Regions from separate parts of the Homo sapiens genome. Here region 1 is linked to region 2. Evidence: promoter capture Hi-C in 16 types of primary human blood cells and fetal thymus (Javierre and others, 2016). All regions are on one chromosome and are shown on one strand. The core of a region is centred on a gene start or on the middle of the fragment in contact, and the rest is flanking DNA. Distances in the headings are between cores, read along the strand shown. Region 1 has its middle 53 kb from the start of DUSP1. Region 2 holds the start of ATP6V0E1 (ATPase H+ transporting V0 subunit e1).

Region 1 (5,337 bases), core at 1,137-3,636, 270 kb before region 2:
GGGCCAGGGAGTGAGAGGGGCCGGGAGGAGAGGATGCTCGTAGACAGAGGCACAAAGCATGTCCAGAGGTGGCTGCTAGGAGATTTCCCAGCACTAGGGCTGTGACTCAGGCTGAAGCCTGAGCCCAGGCACTTCCTGGCTGGTGACTCAGTTTCCCCAATTCTACAGCGGCATCACACAACATCTGCTTCTCAGCATCGAAGAGGCGTTGAGGCATGGCCGGTATGTGTCTGTGGGGTCCTTCAAAATCTTATTTATCAAGCAGTTAGAGTGGGCTCAGGACTTTGTGTATGTGTTTGCTCTCTCAGGTGAGCCTGAAAAGATCAGGACTGCGACTCCCATTTTACAGAGGGATAACCTGAGGCTCAGTGAGGTGAAGGCAGTTCAAGATCCTTGACAGAGGCTCTGGATCACTGCGCTAGAAAGTGGTGGGGTGGGGAAAGACCGCTGGGCTTTCTGACTTCAGCAACACGTTCTCCAGTAACCAGACTTCCGAACAGTGGCAGACAGGGCCCTCTGCCTGGCAAGCACACACCACAGGACCTGTCCCACAGAGGGCCTCCCAGCCCGCTCTGCCAACCTCACCCACAGGCCCCCAAACTTGAGAGGGTTGACATAGGCCATGGAGACCTGTGCGAATGTCTGCCTTCCCTACTCCAGTCGACCCCCTGCATCACCCAGAGCACCAGGCCAGGGCCTGGAGTCACGCTCTCCTCTGCCCAGCACTGCCAGGAAGGCAGAAGGTGAGACACAGGAGAGAATGCATGGCGAGAGTGGGCATTTATTTGGCACGTCCTAGGTGGGCTGGGCTGCTCGATGAGATTTTAGGTATATTATCACCATCAGGAAGATTCTAGAGGTAATGAAACTGACATCCAAGAGGGGAGGTGACCTCTCCAGGGTCTCCACCCTGTGCGCCTCAGTTCCCCCAACTGTGACATTGGATGAAGGAGCTCATGCTCAGGGAGGCTGGGAGGGGTCCTGAGGAGGGCTCAGAGCAAGGCCTTGGGACAGCATAGTCCCTGCAAGGGAGTGACCGCTAGGGGCCTTCCTGGGAGCCTGCTGTGCCCTCAGCCCCAGCCCTGCCCACCCTCCCTTTCCCTCTCTGCCTTTCTCCAGAGCACGGCTCAGCCCTTTGGGGCTCTGCACTTTGGGGCCAGAGAGACCTGAGTTAGAATCCAGACCTGCCACTCACTGGTTATGCGACCTGGGCTGAGCGGTTCTTTTTCTCTGAGTCTCAGTTTCCTCATCTGTCTGCGTAAATAAATGAGGGTAATAACCAGCCGCATTTCAAGGGGTCTGGAGGTTAGGACATCATATCTTTCAAGTACCTGGTACGCTGTCTGACGCAGAGTAACCATTTAATAAAGCGGAGCTGTTGTTGCTGTCGCTGTCATTGTTGGCGTTTATTTATGAATGTCGAGGCGGCAGGTGGGCCTTGGTGGGACTGTACGGACATTTCCCGGATGCCCGGAAGGTGGCGCTAGAGACCCCCTTGTCGGCTCCCAAGAGAGCGCTAAGCATGGTCTTCACATCATCGGGAAGAAGCCAAACTTAGACGCCCGGATGGTTTCCAGCTCTGTTAATTCCCTGGGCAGATGCTTCCTGAACACCCCAACAATGTTCTCAGGTCCACCACTGGGGCTGCGGACCTGGGGCTCCTCCCCACCAGCCACCCCGCCCTCCCCAACAGGCCTCCACTGCCTTTCTCTCCCTCCCTTTGTCTCTCCTGCCTCCTCCCTCCCTTCGTTTCTTCCTTCCTTCCTTCTTACAAATAGGCACTGTGCACCTACTGTGTGCTGGGCTCTGTACGATGAACTGGAGATGCCCAGGGAAGAAGACCTTTGAAAGGCTGTGCCCTCTGGAACCTCCAAACTACGTGAGGACACAGAAATAAACAAGAGAAAGAAGAAAAAAAAAGATGCTTTCAGATCCTGGCAAGCATCGGGAGAAAATACAACAGGGTGGTGGGATAGAGGGACGGAGGAGCTGGGGTGAGGAGAAGGCGGGAGGTGGTCAGAGGGAAGGGCCGGTGTGGAGGGGGCCGCCGGAGCAAGGACCCTCGGACACGCAGCCCAGCATATCAGGGAGAAGAGACAAGAGGAAGCAGTCGGGTGGGGGCAGATGTGGCCAGAATCAGAAGCGGGTCTGCGAGGTACAGACTAAAGGGCCGGTCAACTGCTGCAGCAACCACAGCCACCACTAATGCTTACTGAGCACTTACTAGGTGCCAGGCACTGGCATTGTCCCATTTTATAGGTGGGGAAACTGCAGAAGGGACCGCAGCCAACAGTGTTTTCAGGGGCCCTGGGAGTTCCCAGGGCCACTGGTGGAAGAAGGAAGAGAGAATGCTCAGTGAGAGTGGGCATGCATTTGGCACGTCCTCGGTGGGCTGGGCTGCTTTATGCTATTTTAGGTACATTGTCACCATCAGGAGGATTCTAGAGGTCATGCAACTGGCATCCAAGAGGGGAGGTGACCTGCCCAAGGTCACAGTCGGGGATTGGCAACCCTGAGACCTGAACCCAGGTCTTCCCCATTTGGGCAGGTGGCCCCCTGTGCCCAGAAGCCTCAGAGCCCTCTGGAACGCCATTTTCCTTGGGCCCCACAAATAATCTGGCTTCAGTTTGCCCCTGAGCCCACCTGTCAGCAAATCCACTCCACATCCCTCGGGGATCCTGCTCTATTCCACCTCCAGCACTCCCACGAATCCCCATCTCTCCCTGGATGGCTGGATCCTGTTTCCTCCTTTCATGACACTCTGACCATCTAAAGTTATCAGACCTACTTGTGTACATTCATCTCCCCCACCAGACTATACCCTGACCCCAGTGGGTCTCCCCAGCCTCCTGCCTCAACCCCCCTAACCTTTCACCCTACCCTTCACCACACAGATGTGCTTACACCATTCTGAACAAGCACACCACTCATGAGAGCAGGCACAGACCCATCTTCATCCCCCTCTCCTCACAGCTGAGCACAGTGTGTGCATGGAGAAGGGGCTCAGTGAAGATAGGTGGATGGATGGATGGATGGAAAGACAGATAGATGAATGGATGGGTGGATGGATAGAAGTCGAATGGATGGATGATGATGGTGGACAAATGGATGAATGACGAATGGGTGGAAGGAAGATTAGTGGATGGATGGATGGATGGATGGATGGGATGGATGGATGGATGGACAGGATGGATGTATGAATAGATGGATGGATGCATGGATGTATGGATGGATGGATGGATGGGTAGATGGATGGATGGATGGATGGATGGATTGGATGGATGGATGAACAGATGGATGGATGCATGGATGTATGTATGTATGGATGGATGGATGGATGTATGGATGGATTGGATGGATGGATAGGATGGATGAATGGATGAATAGATGGATGGATGCATGGATGGATGAATGGATGGATGGACACGAGGGATGGATGGATGGACAGGATGGATGGATGGATGGATTGGATGGATGGATGGATAGGATGGATGGATTGGATAGGATGGATGGATGGATAGATGAATAGATGCATGGATGCATGGGTGGGTGGATGGACAGGATGGATGCATGGATGGATGGTTGGACAGGGTGGATGGATGGATGGATGGATGGATGGATGGATGGATGGATGGATGTTTGAAAGACTACTTGACCTAAGCCTGTGTTTGCTTTTTGACCCACAGGAAGGAGGTCAGAATAAAAGATGGCAGCAGTGACCCAGGTAAATAAGTCCTCCAGTGTGGGGCTATGGTGGGGAAAAGGGGTTAGGTGCCAGTGCTGGGGATGGGCCATCAGCAAATTCTGGCAACATCTAATGTGCACAGAGCAATGATGAGTAAACCCCAAGACGTGACCTGGAGCATCTCTTGTAAAGAACAGGGAGAGGGTGTAGTCCCTGAAGCTGGGACCAGGGCAGCAAAGCACGTCAAGGCTCTGACTCAGCCAGGAGCCATGGGAGTTTGAGAAACTGGGCGCAAACACCCACCTCATGCATGAACACGGCTCTGTATAGGCATGAAGGACTCTCACTTGTGGTGCCATGACTGAGCTTCCAACCATGGTCCTTGAAGCCAGTGGGACTCTACTCATGGTGCAGATGGAGAAACAGATGCTTCCAGAGGGGAAGTGACTTGTCCAAGACCACCCAGTCAGAAAATGGCTCACAGTTGGCTTGGGTGGGAGTTGGTGGGGTCAAATGGTTCTGGAGGGGCCAGAGGCTTGGGGTACGGGACTGTCAGGCCGGACTCAAGGGTCCTCAGGTGTAGACTCAGACCTGCCGCTCCAAGCTATGTCTCGAGTGCCCTGAGTGCCCTTCCCCAAATGCAATCTGACTGTGTCACGCTGTTTTTTGGAATCCTTAGGTGGCTCCCCAGTGGTGCGGGATCCTGTCCCAGACACTGGCTTGGCCTTCTGGTTCCTTCATCCCCTGCCCCGCAGACTTCTCCAACCTTGTGCCTCCACCTTCCACTCTCTGCACCCTGCCCTCCACCATCCTGACATGCTTACGTTTTCCTGAACAAACAGACCATATGTGCTTTCTAAGGCCCACACACATTTACACAGGCTGAGCCCTCTGTTAGGGACACCTTACCAACCTTCTTCACTCCAGTAGTTCCTACGGTGTCTTCAAGGTGTAGCTCTGGCCTCAACTGTCTCTGATCCACCCACTTACGTTTAGGCGGGGCAAGGTAGTCCCACTCCTTTCTGCCCCAATTACATGCTATGCTGAACTCTACCATCAAGACAATTACCATAGGCGATAATTAGCTGGTTACTAGTCTGCCTCCCCAGCTGGACTGTGAATTCCAAGAGAATGAGCTTTGGGACTTATTCACCTCCGTATCTGTAATGCCTGGCACAGCAGCTAGTTATTATTTGTGGAAGGGAGGGAGGGAAGGTAGAGAGCACCTTACAGTCTGTGAAGTGTTCTTTCATGCATGTAATTATTTTTAAACTTGGGGCAGCAAGGAAACATGCTGGGAAGGGTCCTCACCTCAAGCAAAGTTGTCATGCAGCAATCCTTTGTAAACCTGGTGTCTGGAACTCAAAACATAGAGGAAAATGGTGCCAAAGTGTTCGACTTTTGGAATATGGATATGCAGAGAAGCACCTTATGCTAGGGAAAGGACTCAAGCTTTGGAATCCAGAAGTACTGCAGTTTCAGAACGTTTCTAGCTGCAGGAAAGGAAACCCAACTCCAAGCCTCCACCTGACTTAGATAACAAGGGAGCTTGTTGGCTGGTGTGAGCAGAGCTGAATCTTCAGAGTGGTGCAGGCTGTCAAGGAGCTGGGTGAAGCTTTCGAGGACCTCTGTCCTCTTCATAGGTTCCCAAG
Region 2 (5,380 bases), core at 583-3,082:
ACATTGCATTTAAAGACCTGCTTTCTATCTTGCTTTCACCTGTAAGCTTTATCATCAAGCTCCTCAACCTCTCTGAGAACTGGCTTCCTTGTCTATTCCAAGCTTGGCGCATACTATAACTAACATATGTGAAAATTCTCAGCAAGCGTTCTAAGCCCTGTTTATCAGCTCAGCACGGTGGCTTATGCCAGTAATCCCGGCACTTTGGGAGGCTGAGGTGGAGGATCCCTTCAGGCCAGGAGTTTAAGACCCACCGGGGCAACATAGCGAGGCTCTGTCTCTACAAAACATTTTAAAAATTAGCTGGTGTGGTGGTGCACACCTGTAGTCCCAGCTCCTCAGGAGGCTGAGGCAGAAGGATGGCTTGAGCCCGGGAGTTCCAGGCAGCAGTGAGCTATGGAGCACCACTGCACTCCAGCCTGGGTGACAGAGCAAGGCCCTGTCTCAAAAAACAAACAAACAAACAAAACTGTTTTACCTTTCTTTTTCTTTCTTTCTTTTTTTTTTTTTTTTTGAGGCAGAGTTTCACTCTGTCGCCAAGGCTGGAGTGCAGTGGTGCGATCTCAGCTCATTATAACCTCTGCCTCCCAGGGATTCAAGCGGTTCTTGTTCCTCAGCCTCCTGAGTGGCTGGGACTACAGGTGCATACCTGGCCAATTTTTGTATTTTTAGTAGAGATGGGATTTCACCATGTTGCCCAGGCTAGTCTTGAACTACTGACCTCAGGTGATCTGCCCGCCTCGGCCTCCCAAAGTGCTGGGATTACAGGTGTGAGCCACCATGCCTGGCCTGTTTTTCTTCTTACCATTCTGGCTAATTTCTACTTGTCTTTCAAGGCTCAGCAAGGACGAGTTGGGTAGAAAGCCTTGCAGGGTCGTCCACTTACTTTCACACTGCATTGAGTCGCCTGTTTGCAAGGTCATCTGCTCCCCAGAATGTGAACTCCCTCAGGGGTGCCTGATTGACTTCTGTAACTCCAGAGCCTGGCACAGCACACAAGATAAATAGTGGTGCGCTAGTTAAGAGCTCTGGCCTTGAAAATCAGATAATCAGGGGTTGAATCCTGGCCCTGCCACTTACTATGTGACTTTGGGCAAGATCCTTATCCTCTTCCCTGGGCCTCAGTTTCTTCAACTGCAAAGTGGGGATAATAATTACAATTACCTCATAGGCTGAAGTGAGGAGTTCAACACGGGCTCATGCACTTTTTTTTTTTTCTTTTGAGACAGAGTGTTGTTCTGTTGCCCAGGCTGGAGTGCAGTGGCGCAATCTCGGCTCACTGCAACCTCCACCTCCCGAGTTCAATTGATTCTCCTGCCTCAGCCTCCTGAGTAGCTGGGACCACAGGCGCGCACCACCACACCCAGCTAATTTTTGTATTTTTAGTAGAGACAGGGTTACACCATGTTGGCCAGGCTGGTCTCGAACTCCTGACCTCAAGTGATCCGCCTGCCTCAGCCTGCCAAAGTGCTGGGATTACAGGCGTGAGCCACCGCACCCGGCCTGGGGCTCATGAACTTAAAGATCATGGCCCAGTGCCAGGCACACGGGAATTCAGAATAGTAAGGGACAACTATTGTTAAGTTCTCTATGTCTGTTGCATAAGTAGATGAGGCTGTAGATAACTACACTCTTTGTCTAAAAGGGCCAAGTTCTCATCAGAACACTTTGCTGAGCCCCGGGTGACCGAATCCCTAGCTCTGGGGTGAGCGACATGCCTCCAAGGAGCTGCAGCCAGGAGACAGCCAGGCGAAGGCGGGGCTCTGCCTCTGGGCTCCCCGAGGGGCGGAGGCCGGCGCGCGGGTCACGTGGGGGCGCGGGAGGCGGGGCTTGCACACGCTGGTCACGCGGTCAGCTATTGACACTTCCTGGTGGGATCCGAGTGAGGCGACGGGGTAGGGGTTGGCGCTCAGGCGGCGACCATGGCGTATCACGGCCTCACTGTGCCTCTCATTGTGATGAGCGTGTTCTGGGGCTTCGTCGGCTTCTTGGTGCCTTGGTTCATCCCTAAGGGTCCTAACCGGGGGTAAGTGCGTGAGGCCCGCCTTGGGAGGAACGGGCGGTGAGGAGCTAGCAGGCCGGGGCGGGGAAAGGCACGACCCCCACACGGGTCAGAGAACGTTGCATGGGCGCCCCCCGCGCTGCAGAGTCAGGCCCCCGACCCGGCGGAACTCCTTGTGTTCCTTTTCGCAGCAGCTTCAGTGTCCTCCGGCCTGAGCGAGTGGAGGGTGACCTTTGGTGGACCCCCCTTGGAAACGAGTTTCAGGGGAATTTTTTCTCATCATAGTCCTGTGTGGGGAGGTGCAGTCGGAAATGAGCAGGCCGAATCTGGGAGAAACTGGGGTTTGTCCCTAGTCGACTGTCCCCCTTTAGCCCTGCCTTCCACCCACATGAGGCCTCGTTTGCCTGAACTTAAGGATCAAATAAATAAAACAGAAATTGGCTTCTCTGCCTCCCATGCTGTCGCGGTTGCGTACAGAACAAGCTCCTTCGACAACATTGAGCCCAGGCCTTGCATCTAGTGGGCGCCAGGAGGCGGTTGGGGCCTGATCTAAAGCGAGATTAATTACCAAAGAGCAGGAGGTATTGTTGAGAAACCCCTGCGTCATGCCTTTTGGAGGGCGCTCCGGCTCTTGTATGTGAGTGTAAGAAGTGCTTAGAATGATTGGCTAAGAAAGATTTTGTTTTTCCAGACTTCTTTGTTGGTTAGAGCTTTGTCTCTTTTGGAATTAAACTTTTTAACTGTAGTATAAAATAGAGGCTTAATCTTCAAAGGAGCCTTGGAACACCCTCTTCCTGGTTCCTCTTTTGCTTCTCAGTCATTTTTTTCTCAGTTCAAGATGATGAGAGGTGAAACTTCGACTGAAGTCAGTTTGTCAGAAACACCATCTCTTGCTTTATTCTTGAACCTAATTGGTGGCTTCATAGTGCCTGGTTTTCATAGTACCTTGTATGCACAGGAGGCACCCAATAAATACCTGTTGAGTGAATAGTTCTATTGTCTTTATTAAAAGAAAAAGATTTTTGGCCAGGTGCCGTGGCTCACGCCTGTAATCCCAGCACTTTGGGAGGCCAAGGCGGGCGGATCACGAGGTCAGGAGATCGAGACCATCCTGGCTAACACGGTGAAACCCGTCTCTACTAAAAACACAAAAAATTAGCCGGGCGTGGTGGCGGGCGCCTGTAATCCCAGCTACTCGGGAGGCTGAGGCAGGAGAATGGCGTGAACCCAGGAGGCAGAGCTTGCAGTGAGCCGAGATCGCGCCACTGCACTCCAGCCTGGGCGACAGAGCGAGACTCCGTCTCAAAAAAAAAAAAAAAAAAGAAAGAAAAAGATTTTTACTACTTCCCTAATATTTTGTGACCTGAACCCCTTTTGCTCCCTGGGATACATTTGCTTTATTAGTCTAAAATTATTTTTTTTTAAAAGATACATGGTAGATGAATTTTTATCATTTTTAAGTATCAAGTTCCTCCTCCCTGGTAACACCAGTTATATGGGGTCATCTCTCCTACCTATAGAGGTTGATGGACAGAGTCAGAATTCTGGCATTATTAAAGCAATTGTATTTACCAAAGTTAATTAGACTTGTTTTTCCTACTGGAGTTAGCGAACAACAAAGTGCTTCTTTGTTGTGTTTATATCTTCAACTGTTTCATTACCCTACTGTCTGCCTTTATGGCCTTTGTACTCAAAGAAGCATTTATTAATGTACTAATAGCACTGACAATTCCTTTCTTAAAGACCATTCTCTCCCCTTCCTTGGGATGTCATTGCCATTATCCAGGGTAATGAAACCCATCCTGTTTCCACTTAGCCCTAGAGAGTGTCATGATTCAGGTATTTGACCAGCTAGTGATATATAGACATGTGTCACTTAACAAAAGGACTATGTTTGAGAAATGTGTTAGTTGGGCTTTTGTGTGAACAAAGAGTTTACTTAAACAGATGGTACAGCCTACTACACACCTAGGCTATTTGGTAGAACCTGTTGCCTCTAGGTAGGCTACACACCTGTACAGCATGTTACTGTCCTTAAATACTGTATAGACAAATGTAACACAATGGTATTTGTGTATCTAAACATAGAAAAGGTACAGTAAAAATACATATCAAAGATTTAAAATGGTCCACCTGTGTAGGGCACTTACCATGAATGGAGCTTGCAGGACTGGAAATTGCTGTGAGTGAGTCAGTGACTGGTGAGTGAATGTGAAGAACCAGGACATTGCTGTATACCATGGTGGACTTTAGAAACACTGTATACTTAGGCTACATGAAATTTCTGAAAAAATATTTTTCTTTCTTCAAAAATAAATTAACCTTAGCTTCCTGTAACTTTTTTACTTAAACTTTTGAATTATTTTTAACTTTTTGACTCTTGTACTAACACTTGGCTTAAAACACAAGCAAGGCTGGGCACGGTGGCTCACACCCATAATATGCAGCACTTTGGGAAGCCGGACAAGAGGATTGCTTGAGACCAGCCTGGGCAACACAGCGAGACCTTATCTCTGAAAAAAATTTTTTTTAATTAGTTGGGTATGGTGGTGCACACCTGTGGTCCTAGCTACTGGGGAGGCTGAGTGAGGGGGATGGGAGTGTTTGAGACCAGGAGTTCCAGGATGCAGTAAGCTATGATCACACCACTGTACTCCAGCCTGGGCAACAGTGAGACCCTGTCTCTTCAAAAATGAAACAAGTCCAGTGTCAGAGTCTGGGGAAGAGGCTGCAGGCACCATGTCCATTTTCACAGATGGCAGGAAGAAGCCCCTGAAACAGCCCAAGAAGCAGGCCAAGGAGATGGATGGGGAAGATAAGGTTGGTTTTTTGTTGTTTTTGTTTGTTTGTTTGTTTGTTTGTTTTTGAGACAGAGTCTCACTCTGTCGCCAGGCTGGAGTGCAGTGGCGTGATACTGGCTCACTGCACCCTCCGCCTCCTGGGTTCAAGCAATTCTCCTGCCTCAGCCTCCCGAGTAGCTGGGGTTACAGGCGCGCACCACCATGCCCAGCTAATTTTTGTATTTTTAGTAGAGACGGGATTTCACCATGTTGGCCAGGATGGTCTCGATCTCTTGACCTCATGATCCGCCCATCTCAGCCTCCCAAAGTGCTAGAATTACAGGCATGAGCCACCACGCCCGGCTGGAAGATACATTTTTTAAACAAAAAGAGGAGCAGAAGAAACTGGAGGAGCTGAAAGTGAAGGCCATGGGGAAGGGGCCCCTGGTCATAGGTGGAATTAAGAAATCCGGCAAAAAATAAGCTGTTCCATGTGCCTGAGGTGATCGATGGTGACCCTTGATTCCATTTGTATTTAAACATCTGGATTCCCTGCTATAACTTTTTTTTTTTTTTTCTTTGAGATGGACTCTCACTC

What was found. Contacts are between HindIII fragments. The CHiCAGO score rates a contact against its expected background, and 5 or more counts as called.
Region 1: a contact is called between a fragment that was not itself captured here and the fragment with the promoter of ATP6V0E1 in region 2, in 1 of 17 cell types (neutrophils). The highest score is 8.6, in neutrophils.

What each region holds. Positions count from the first base shown.
Region 1 is chr5:172,715,496-172,720,832 of GRCh38, forward strand. No RefSeq gene overlaps it. Among named protein-coding and RNA genes, the nearest start is that of DUSP1, 53 kb to the right of the region's middle. The HindIII fragment of the contact is 5,498 bases long and covers 1-5,135 here.
Region 2 is chr5:172,981,939-172,987,318 of GRCh38, forward strand. It overlaps ATP6V0E1 (ATPase H+ transporting V0 subunit e1), which reads left to right and starts at 1,833. Exons shown (of 4, transcript NM_003945.4): 1 at 1,833-2,026. The coding sequence starts at 1,923. RefSeq lists an enhancer at 1,648-1,942 and a silencer at 1,708-1,887. The HindIII fragment of the contact is 8,334 bases long and covers 101-5,380 here.